Linked DNA regions of Homo sapiens: regions 1, 2 and 4 are each linked to region 3. The links are contacts of gene promoters, found by promoter capture Hi-C in blood cells and fetal thymus (Javierre and others, 2016). All regions are on one chromosome and are shown on one strand. Each heading gives the region's core, a stretch centred on a gene start or on the middle of the fragment in contact. The rest is flanking DNA. Distances are from core to core; before and after follow the strand shown.

Region 1 (2,700 bases), core at 20-2,519, 420 kb before region 3:
TCAACCACCAGTGTCAGGAGGACAAGCTACCAGGATAATTATGCTCTATGAGGCAAACTTTGACTCTGGGGCCTGGAAACCCAGAAGCCATTGATTAGTCAATAGCAATCTAAACAATGCACTCATAAAGCCAGGGAATGCAAATGTGGCTGGGGCTCTCAGGAGGGCACTGGTGGTCATGAGAACAGGGTGGCATCTGTCCTGAGCAGGATCGGGACAGCAGGTGTGGCCCCAGTCTGCTGGGCTCTGCAGCCCCCACCTCTGCTCCTGCCCTGTCCCAGCAGCCAGGCATGGCCCCGCCTCTGTGGGGCCCTCTTTTCTCCAGGGAAGCCGGCCACCCAGGCCTTGACCCTTTTCAACCCTGTCCCCAGGCCCATCACTCCTCATTTATCCTTCTTAGAGATACTTAAGACATCAACAGCAGGACTGGGATGTGTTTACGAAAAGAACCCAAATCCTAGCTCAAGCCACAGGCACAAAGTACAGCCCAACAGACAGGGAAGGGGCAGGGCAAGGGAGTGTGACCCTGGCGGCAGCTGGAGAAGGCACTGCTGGAGTATGTCCAGGAGGAGCTCGCCAGTGCCAGGGCAATGGGACAGGAAGGGCAAGCCAAGTCCGAGCCCAGGGAATGTAAAGGAAACAGCAGCCATGTTTCCTTTACGTCGTCTTGGTATTTCCAAGCAGCTCCGCATAAAATCTTTGCGCACACACACACATGCATGCTCACTCTCTCTCTCTCTCTCTCTCTCTCTCTATCTGCCTGATAGTTTCCTTCAGGTCTGGATTCTACGTCTGACCTTTGTCCTGGCAAGCTTGTCCTCCCCTCCAGCCTGCCAGGGGCACACTCTGCATGCTCATTTTTATACTCCAAGGTCTTTAACTTCAAAAGGAGGCGGGGGACAATCTAGAAAGCTGGCCAAAGTGAGATGCAACAGAGGGTTCCAGAGACAGCCACCGCCCAATGCAGGGCCTGATCTGCAGGCTGCACTGGCCCCATGACCGCAGCCCTCCCTGCAACTGGGGCTCACCCACTCCCTGCACAGCACCCCTACGGGCCAGGCAGCACTGGGTAAGAGGGAGGAGGGGAGGCCCCGAATCAGGGTGACTCTGCCCAGCTTCAAACACTCCCACACACCAGAAGGGCTCACCTTTGAATGCCACCTCCCAGCGACCTTCCAAGGAGCGGTTCCGGCCAGTGATAACATACTGATAGCCAACCCACAACCTGCAGGGCACAGAGACAGAGACAGAGATCTCAGCGGCAGGAGGGATGCAACCATCAATGACTGTGTGTTTTTTGTTTTTTGAGACAGAGTCTCGCTCTGTCACCAGGATGGAGTGCAGTGGTGCGATCTCGGCTCACTGCAACTTGACTTCCTGGTTCAAGCAATTCTCCTGCCTCAGCCTCCCGAGTAGGTGGGATTACAGGCACAGGCCACCACGCCCAGCTAATTTTTGTATTTTTTTTTTTTTTTTTAGTAGAGACGGGGTTTCACCATATTGGCCAGGATGGTCTCGATCTCCTGACCTCATGACCCACCCGCCTCGGCTTCCCAAAGTGCTGGGATTGTTTTTTAATAGCTATACTGACCTCCACAACACTGAGCTTCTAACATGAGACACTCATGTTAGAATGCATTAAAATTCAAAACAAGAAAGTTCACAGGGCAGGAAAAGTTTTATCTCAGGGAACTCTTGCCAAGACTGTTTCTATGAGCTAAACCGGTAAAGCTTTCACAATTTAAGCAAGAACAATCTTATTCTTGGTAGACATGAAACCCCATGAATACAACTCGGTGACTATGCTAAAACCATAGGACAGGGCACTCCACAGGGGAGATTTTCATGGCATGTGAACTGCATCTCAATAAAGACATAAGTCCCTGCAAATATCCACTACCATGGGGGCTGAAAACACTTGCACGGCTTCCCACTCAGAGCCAGCCCACCTCAGGCCTGCAGCCTGCTCCTGAGCATGCAGGCCTAGCACTGAAAGGACCTTGCACTGGCATCTGGCTGACCGCCATAAGCTCCTGCCTAGTCCATGTCCCTTGGCCCAGCTTTCCAGCCCCAAGCCTAGAGATGCCCATCAGCAGGTCTCCCCGCATGGCAGGAGCCCAGGGATGGCACACTCTGCCCTATGCTGTGCAACCACAAGGCTGTCCTCAGAGATGGGGCTGCCCTGCCCTCCGGGCTATACCCTCTTGCTTCTCCACTGGACTCACAGGCCTGTCCTCATGGGGTTAGTACAACAACCTGTGAGCTAAGAGTTAGTTTCCTCCCTTTGTAGCTGCAGAAGGAAAAACAACTCCGTCTTGTGATTTGCCAAACTCTCACAGGGCATAACTGTGGAGTCAAAACCCAGCTTGGGTCTTGAAGCGAAGGCCCCCTTGCTTTCTTGGGGGGAACCCCCACCTACACTGCACACCCCTTGCACAAGGCCCACGAAGCCCCACACCAAGCAGTTCTCCCCACACAAGCCAGCACCCCCAGCCCCCTGCCTGCGCTCAGCAACTGCACTTGTACAAGGAGAGGGGTACCAATGAAAGGGGCTGCCCCACAGTCCCACAAAGTAGCAGCAGAGTCCAGCCTGCCCCTGCTCCCAGGACCCTCCACCTATCTCGATGCACACTCCTACCCATGGATCTCCTGGGCTTCCAGTGGGCGAGGCTGGTCTTCCCAACCTGCTGTCTGCCAGCT
Region 2 (2,700 bases), core at 140-2,639, 300 kb before region 3:
GCCCACACGGACCATGCCCCGGGACACAGGGCAGCCCACACGGACCATGCTCTGGGACACAGGGCAGCCCTGTGAGCAGCCTCTCCCTTTATGTTTGCTGCTCTTTTCCAGTTTTGGCAGTGAAGGTGTCATTTTGTTTTCTGCTTTATAAAAGTATTTTTTAAAGACTTTAAGGCTGCCTTTAGCATAGACTCAGCCTCCACGGGTGGCCCTTCGTGGCAGGCGTCCTGCCCCAGGGCCCCGCGGTCACCCCGCCGGCCTTCCCTGGCGTCCAGGAGACCCTCCCCAGCTTGCCGGTTGCCCCGGGAGCACCGGGCCAGCGGGGCCGCCCGTCTCCGTACTCCCTGCGTGTCCGGGGTCCTCGCCAGGACCTTCCCCACCTTGATGGTCTCCATGGGGCACACGACCACCACGGCCTCGGCCACGCCAGCGCCCAGGCCGCACAGCAGCCCACGCGTGCTGTCCAGCCGTCCCTGGGCATCCCGCATGTGGTTGCTGAGGAACTCGAACATTCCAAACCTGGAGGCGGGAGGCGGGTGAGAGGGGCTGCCGCGGCCGAGCCCCCCTCCCGCAGCAGCCACCGGCCGGGCCTCACCTGACGGCCGCCTTGGGGATGGAACCGTAGAGCAGGGAGCTAAGGCCGCGGTACAGGCCCAGGACGCCATGGCTGCGAACCGTCTGCCGCACGCAGTCCCCTGGGGGAGGGGGCGGTCAGGACCCCACGGCCCTCGGTGCCGCCGCCCTGGGTACCCGCCCCCCGCGGCGCCGCGGCCTCCCCCTCCTCACCGATGCCCCGGTACCGCGGCGGGTGCGAGCGCTCGTCCAGCTGCAGCTGCGTCTTCACGTACTCGGTGGGGAAGGTGATGCAGATCTCGATGCCACCCGCCAGGCCGCCTGCAGGGACCGGGAACCCGCTCCTGAGACTCCCGCCCGGCCGCTGGCGCTCGGGCCCCTCCCCCGTCCCGGACTTCGGTCGGCGCGGCCGCCGCGCCAGTGCCGCGGGGAACATAGGCTGGGGCCCCACGCCCCCATGCCCTCACCCCGTTGTCCCGGCGAGGCGCAGGGGGTGACAGACGGGAGGCGGGCGAGTCCCAGCGCGCCGGGTGGGGACCAGGACCGCGCCTCCACGACTCCCCAGCCCACGGCCCAACCCGGAAGTGGGGCGGGGCCTCAGCGTCCCGGGCCCACCCAGAAGCGCGGCGGGAGAGGGGTCCGCGTCCCGGAGGGGCCCACCTGCCAGGATCGCCTTCCCCGGGTGCGTCAGCTTGGCCTTCCCGGACGCGGGCGCGGCGGCCGCCAGAGCGCGCGGGGCGCGGGGCGCGGGCATGGCGGGCGGGAGGCGGGGCGCCCTGTGGCGGCTTCGGGTCCGAGACTCCAGAACTCCGCGCTCGGTCCGCGGTGGCGGCGGCGGCCGGTTATGGTCCCAGGGGCGGGGCGGCCGCGTCAGCTCCAGGTCCCGCCCCGCGTGGTCCGAGCCAGGCCCCGCCCCCAGCCCGCCCCGTGCGGGCCGGGAAACTGAGGCCTGGGCGGGGCGCGCCGAGGCAGGCGTAGGGGCGGGGCCAAAGCGCAGCCAATGGCCGAGGCCGAGTCCCTGGGCGACCGCGAGCGGCGGGACGGGGGCGGGGCTGCGGGAGGCGGAGCCGTGGCCCAGCTCCGAGCAGTGGGTCAAGGTGCACTGTGTGCCGCGCCGCGGGATAGCGGGCCTCGGGTCTGCGCGACTGTCGAGAGCGGCGGGATCCCCAGGGATCCCGGAGGCCAGGGGCACACCCTCCCCGAAAACACGTGGGGCTAGCCCAGTCCCAGAGGAACTCTAACGTTTCAAACCTGGAGGCGGGAGGCGGGAGGCCGGTGAGAAGGGGCTACGCCGCCGGGCCCCCCTCCCGCAGCAGCCACGGGCCGGGCCTCACCTGCCGGTTCCCACCCACACCTTTCCCGGTTGTAGTTTCTGCGCTCAGCGAACAAGGTCAGGAAAGACCACAAATGCAAGCGGCTGTATTCTCCTAGGCAGCTTGTCTGGGCAACGGAGGTCCCACACCCCAAAGAGGACCCAGCAAATCTTTAATGGACTGCGGGGCCTAGGAAACTGGCCCGTCCCTCCTACCCATACCAGCACCAAGCAGAGCACCTTTGCCTGGATAAACCGACTTTAATATTTATGATTGCCAAGAGGCTGAGAGTCCTTTTATGAGGTCCGGTACCTCCAAACAAGACGTGTTCATGTAGTCTTCAAACTGGCCTGGAGGGGGCAGCTCCAGCCAGTCGGAGGCGCCCAGGAGGAAGGCCTGGCTCCAGCAGGAGGGCCCACAGTCCAGTCTCTGTTGTCGGCTAAAGCTGGTCTTGCGCCGTCAGCCTCTACCCTGGCCTCCCCAGGCTCTGGGATGGCTCAGAGGTTGCCGTCATTGGGTTTCAGCAAAAATAAATATTGTCCAGGTGTCCCTGCCTCCCATTGCGTCCCCTGTGCTGCTGGAGTGACATGCTCCTTGGAGAAGTTAGTAACTCTGCAGGTAGGGTGGGTGGTGACAACGCCCACTACACGCGGAAGTTGTACATTGGAGGCTGGCGAAGTTGGGAGCAGAGGCATATCCATAGGGGAAGCTGGCAGGGGCTGGGCCCACGGCAGGGCCTGCAGAGGGGGAAGCCCACAATGAGCAGAGCTCTTCCTGCCCATGGGGGTCCTCTCCTGGCTGCCCCTGAGTAGCC
Region 3 (2,700 bases), core at 151-2,650:
ATGAGGGAGTACAGGTGTTAAAAGCTGTGTAACAGGAAATGTACCAGCAGGTATTAGCTTCCATCGTTATCATTACCGAACACAACACCGCTGTACAGATTCGAAGGCACGAACCCGTAGGCACGGAGCTCACGGAGCTGGGGCAAGAGCTGGGTGTCCCCCAAGAGCGGGGGATGCCCACTACGGATTCTCCCTGGGGAGCGCCCTGATTCTGTTCCCATCCCCAGCAACCTTGCAACTAACTTTGGGTTTATGGAAACCTGTTGCGCGTCCAGCACTTGGGAAACCCGTGAATGGACACAAACCTTCCTTTCTTTCGTCAAGGAGGGCAAGTCCGGCTGAGACAGAATGCGAGCCACGTTCAGGACCGGCGGACGCGACCACAGGCGGTTAGTGGTCAAGGGTCCTGCTTGTGCCCGGTGCGGCCGATGAGCCTGCAGGCCGGACTCAGGCCCGGGTGACTCGGCACCTCCGCCGCCGTCCCGCCCCGCCCTGCCCCGCCGGGCCCTACCTCAGGCCCCGGGCCAAGGCCCAGCCCCCGCCCGCTGCCCGTCAGCGCTTACCATGATGGACACCACCTGGCAGACTCCGCTCCTCTCAGGCAATGCAACGAAGAAACCCCGCCGACCGCTCTCCCAGCCGCCGCTGCCGCTGCCGCCGCGCCAAGCCGGTACGCCCCAGAGGCTCACCGGAAGTGCCGGACCCGAGACCCGGAGGGGGGGTGCCCGGGACAAAGCGTCGGCTGCAAAAGAGAAAAGGCCAGGCGAAGACGCTAGGCTCTAAAACACCCTCAGTAGAAGCATTAAAATGCCCTTTCGTGATTTATTTCCCCTTTTATAGGTATTTTTAAACGTTATTTTAAATTACGTGTTGACAGTATTCCCCTCCAGACGAATTTAGTAGGGCCCATTGTCCTTACGACTACACTACCCACAATGCACTACCCAGACTGCCTCTGCTTCAGCCATCGAGGACTCGGGCGGAACTAAGCTACAAATCCTTCTTCAAACCACACCAAAAACCTATTGCAAACGTAAATGCTGCCCCATTGGGTATGTGACTGAGTTTAATGTATGGTTAGAAGTATACTTTCCCTGAGGGTTCCCAGTGGGAGGCAGTAGGCTTCTCTTCCCAAAGTAAAGATGTCCGCCCAGCGTCGCTTTTCTGGGTAAAAGCGAGTCAGAGTTGAAGGGGGCAACAGTGTTTGCGTTCGGCCTCAGAGGTGACGCTTCTTTGGGGGCGGGCTGGAGTTTTCTGGCCGTGAATGGCAGAGCGCTAATGGCCGCCTCCAATGTGGCCCAATCAGAAAGAAAGGAAGGCTGGGAACTAAGAAGCTATTGGTTGGTGATCCCTGGACCAATCGGAGGAGCCGTGATTTGGCGGGAGTCTTGACCGCCGCCGGGCTCTTGGTACCTCAGCGCGAGCGCCAGGCGTCCGGCCGCCGTGGCTATGTTCGTGTCCGATTTCCGCAAAGAGTTCTACGAGGTGGTCCAGAGCCAGGTGACGCCCAGTCCGGGACCCCCGCCGAGGCCTTGCCGGTGGGGAAGGGATGAGGGGGAGCGACCGTGGGTGACCGGGAGGCAGGGGAGGGCCGGGGTTCGGGTCGCCGTGTTCAGCCGGTCTGCTCTTCCCCGATAGAGGGTCCTTCTCTTCGTGGCCTCGGACGTGGATGCTCTGTGTGCGTGCAAGATCCTTCAGGTGAGTTCTGCGGACCCTAGGAGGGCGGGGCCGGCGCGCGAGGTGAGGGTGCTGCGTGGGGGCGCAGGGCGGGCAGAGTGTCAGGATGGGTGCTGAGGGCTTAGGGTGGGAGAGGGAGCAGGGCAGGAGGTGAACAGCAAGTGAGAGGAGAGAGACTCGGAGGAGAGGTTGCCTCCCTGTCCCAACGGTGTGGGGTGGGATAAAGGATTAAGTAAAAGGTAAAGAGACTAGTTTGTATTTTTGCAATAAGCTATTAATATTAATAGGTGAACACAGCAGTTGCATTTGGGGGAAACTTTGGATCTGTCGTGGCCTCTCAAATGGGGGATTTGAGAGAGAGGAATCTGTGACAACTGTGGGTATAGTCGTGTCACAGGTGTTGCTGGGAATATGGGAGCCCCTAGTCTATTAGGGAAGATCGTTAGTTTGGTTTTGAATAGGGCATAGTATTTACGTTGTTTTGGTCAGGCCCTTGGATCAGGAACTTTTCAGAAGGCCTGGAAGTTAAATCGGCATTTCTCCCCGATGTTTTACTTTGGTAATTTGCAAAATTCACAGAATGGTATGGTAAACGCTCATATCCCTAGCACCTAGCTTTTCCCGTAAGCATTTCACTAGCTTTAATGTTATCCCGTGTCTTTTGTCTCTCAACCCGTCTAATCTTCCTCAGTTTCTTTTCAAGGTAAATTGCTAATGTCCTAAATAAGATAGGCTTTGAAAACACTCTCTCTCCAGGCCTTGTTCCAGTGTGACCACGTGCAATATACGCTGGTTCCAGTTTCTGGGTGGCAAGAACTTGAAACTGCATTTCTTGAGCATAAAGAACAGGTATTGAAGATGCGTTTTAGAATAACGTGGCTTTTTACTCAATTGTAATTTCTTGACACAGCATTCTATTTCCACGATAGATTAAGCGTGTATTTAAGTATCAGCTACATTAGGCAATATGGAAGAGAAAAACATGCTGTATTTACTGGTGACTTACCACGCCCAAGTTGTAGA
Region 4 (2,700 bases), core at 50-2,549, 400 kb before region 3:
CACTATTATTTTCTCCATTTTATGGATGCAATTTGCCCAAAGGATCACAGCCAGTAAGTGGTGAAAGCAGGGGAGCAGCCCCAGTCCCTGGCTCAAGCCCCCACATTTAACCACGATATGACATACAGCAGAGCTGGCTGCCTCAGGCCACTTTGCTGTGGCCCTTCTGGTCTGGTGTGCTTTGTTCAGACTCTGGCGAATATCCACAGTGGATGTTTTCTTCTAGATCTGGTCAGCACTGGTTGTCTTTCATCATAAGAGGAAGGTGACCCAGCTAGCCAGAGGCTCTAGTGAGCCTAGTGGGCTAGACGCTTGTCAGGGACCACGGTGGGAGAGCTAGTCTTTCAGTTGGAAACCTTCCATTATGTTGACACTTTTCTACCTCTTGTATGAAGTGCCAGTGTCTCTAGAAAAGACTCCTCCAATCTCCTGTCTGGGAAAACACCTGGCTGCTGACATCTGGAGAGCAGGGCAGAAGACAGGCCTGAGCATCCTACTTATTACCTACTTGTCACTACAGAGAATTTCTCTTAATTCCTCTATTTTCAACCTCCACGACTCCCCTCTGTTGTACCTGGTGTCACTTATTTTGCAGACTTTAAGTGCTGTCTAATAGAAACACAATGCAAACCACATTTCAACAAGTAGAAACAAACATGAAATTAATTTTAATACTTTATCTAACCCAATATATTCAAAATACTATTACTGCAACATGGAAACAATATAAAGAAGTATTCATGGGATGTTTTACATTCTTTTTTTGTACTAGGTCTTTCCTATTTGGTGTGTATTTTACACCTGCTGCACATCTTCCTTCAAAACAGCCACATGTGACTCATGGCTACTACACTGGACAGTGTTGGTCTAGAAAATCAACTCCTGCGGGGCACAGTGGCTCATGCCTGTAATCCCAGCACTTTGGGAGGCTGGGGGCAGGATTGCTAGAGCCCCGGAGTTCAAGACCAGCCTCAGCAACAGGGCGAGACCTCGTCTCTACAAAAAATTTAAAAATTAGCTGGGCATGGTGGTACACGCCTGTAGTCTCAGCTACTCAGGAGGCTGAGGTGGGAGGATCGCTTGAGTCCAGGGGTTTGAGGTTGCATTCAGCTGTGGTTTCACCACTGTACTCCAATGGGCAACAGAGCAAGACTCTGTCTCAAAAAAAAGAAATGAAACCCCACATCTTATGGTAGCAGAAAGAGTCACCCAGTGATGGAAAGTGAAGAAGGGAATGCGAGTGCCAAGAGAATTCCACCAATCCCTATCCCACTCCCATGCCTATGCCTGATGCCTGCCACCCTTGGCACTCAGAGCCTTCAAGCGCTGAGCCTTTCTGGGAGGCTGCTGGGCAAACTGCTTATTTCTTGTTGTTCTCACTCAAGCAGGCCCATGGTTGCAGCTGCTCTGCTACACCAGGTCAGTTTAACTCTCCCATTGGCTTTTCTTTGGAAAGGAAAAAAGCTGTATAATATGTGAAACATTTCAAAGAATGTATGTAGCACACATGTAAGATTCATAAGCCTAATAATATAGTTGTGAGCGACCTCCCCACACCCCATTTAGGAAATCAAGCATTATTTTGCTTCTCCCAGTCTTATATCCCTCTGTCTCTCCACCAGGAACTAGAATTTTGTGTATCACTGCGCTTATTTTTTTCTTTTAGTTTACCACATGTGTATGTATCTATAAGTAATATAACGATCTGTTTTGCTTCTCTATATTGTGCCATATGTCGTTTTTAGCAACTTGCTTTTAGCTGACGTTCTGTTTTCAAGATTCATCCATGTTGCTGCATAAACCTAACATTCACTTACTGTTGCTGGTGTATAACATTCCATCATGTGAGCACAGACATTTGGGTTGTTTCCAAGACATGTATCAATGGCAAAAATTAAGATGTCTGACAAAACCAAGAGTTGGAGAGGATGTGGATGGCTTGGAATTTTATCTGCTCCTTTACACCCACTCTGGAAAAACTGTACAAACAATTCTGCAAGGATTTTTCCAGAGTTTCCCTAAATAGAAATCCTGGATCACAGAAAATAAGAATGTTCAGCTTTGCAAGATAATGTCTCTATTCCAGAGTGGGTGTAAAGAAGCACATAAAATTTCCACACTATCCATATCTTCTCCAACATTTTAATTTTTGCCAGTCTAAGCATCTGTAAAGTGGTATCTCACTGTATGTAGTCTTAGAATACTAACGAGGTTAAATTTAAATGTCTTTTTCTATGTTTAATCACCATCTACGAAATGCTTTATAGGAGTTCTTTATATACACTGAATTAGAATCCTTATCCTTTACAGGCTGTAAGTGTTGCAAATATCTTCTCTCTACTCTAGCTTGTCTTTTCACAGTCTTTACTGGTGTTTTTTGGGGTTTTTTTTGTTTTTTTTTTTTTGAAACAGGGTCTCACTCTGATGTCCAGTGGTGTAATCTCGGCTCACTGCAGCCTTGACCTCAGGGACTCAGGTGATTCTTCCCACCTTAGCCTACTGAGAAGCTGGGACTACAAGTGTGTACCACCACATCTGGCTAATTATTTCTTTTTTTTTTTTTTTTTTTTTTTCATAGAGACAGGATTTCACCACGTTGCCCTGGCTGGTCTGGAACTCTTGGGCTCTGGCAATCTGCCCACCTTGGTCTCCCAAAGTGCTGGGATTCCTGGCATAAGCACCTGGCCTATTGGTGTCTTT

Evidence for each region. The method cuts DNA at HindIII sites, captures the fragments that hold promoters and counts their contacts. A CHiCAGO score of 5 or more calls a contact.
Region 1: a contact is called between a fragment that was not itself captured here and the fragment with the promoter of CDC45 in region 3, in 3 of 17 cell types (naive CD8 T cells, naive CD4 T cells and non-activated CD4 T cells). The highest score is 5.5, in naive CD8 T cells.
Region 2: a contact is called between the fragment with the promoter of SLC25A1 here and the fragment with the promoter of CDC45 in region 3, in 8 of 17 cell types (naive B cells, total B cells, total CD4 T cells and 5 more). The highest score is 11.7, in naive B cells.
Region 4: a fragment that was not itself captured here is called in contact with the fragment with the promoter of CDC45 in region 3 in 2 of 17 cell types (naive B cells and non-activated CD4 T cells); the score reaches 5.1 in naive B cells.

Annotation. Positions count from the first base shown.
Region 1 is chr22:19,062,054-19,064,753 of GRCh38, forward strand. It overlaps DGCR2 (DiGeorge syndrome critical region gene 2), which reads right to left. Exons shown (of 10, transcript NM_005137.3): 5 at 1,149-1,225. Among named protein-coding and RNA genes, the nearest start is that of DGCR11, 15 kb to the left of the region's middle. The HindIII fragment of the contact is 919 bases long and covers 811-1,729 here.
Region 2 is chr22:19,177,347-19,180,046 of GRCh38, forward strand. It overlaps SLC25A1 (solute carrier family 25 member 1), which reads right to left and starts at 1,390. Exons shown (of 9, transcript NM_005984.5): 1 at 1,234-1,390; 2 at 787-894; 3 at 596-695; 4 at 381-519. The coding sequence starts at 1,327. CLTCL1 (clathrin heavy chain like 1) reads right to left here. Exons shown (of 33, transcript NM_007098.4): 33 at 2,127-2,623. RefSeq lists silencers at 607-1,686, 1,887-1,986 and an enhancer at 688-1,435. The HindIII fragment of the contact is 6,402 bases long and covers 1-2,700 here.
Region 3 is chr22:19,478,520-19,481,219 of GRCh38, forward strand. It overlaps CDC45 (cell division cycle 45), which reads left to right and starts at 1,401. Exons shown (of 19, transcript NM_003504.5): 1 at 1,401-1,500; 2 at 1,639-1,698; 3 at 2,434-2,526. The coding sequence starts at 1,450. UFD1 (ubiquitin recognition factor in ER associated degradation 1) reads right to left here and starts at 674. Exons shown (of 12, transcript NM_005659.7): 1 at 564-674. The coding sequence starts at 566. RefSeq lists silencers at 441-510, 1,301-1,350 and an enhancer at 911-1,210. The HindIII fragment of the contact is 12,348 bases long and covers 1-2,700 here.
Region 4 is chr22:19,079,673-19,082,372 of GRCh38, forward strand. The region is part of intron 2 of DGCR2 (DiGeorge syndrome critical region gene 2); the gene reads right to left. Among named protein-coding and RNA genes, the nearest start is that of DGCR11, 33 kb to the left of the region's middle. The HindIII fragment of the contact is 4,630 bases long and covers 1-2,700 here.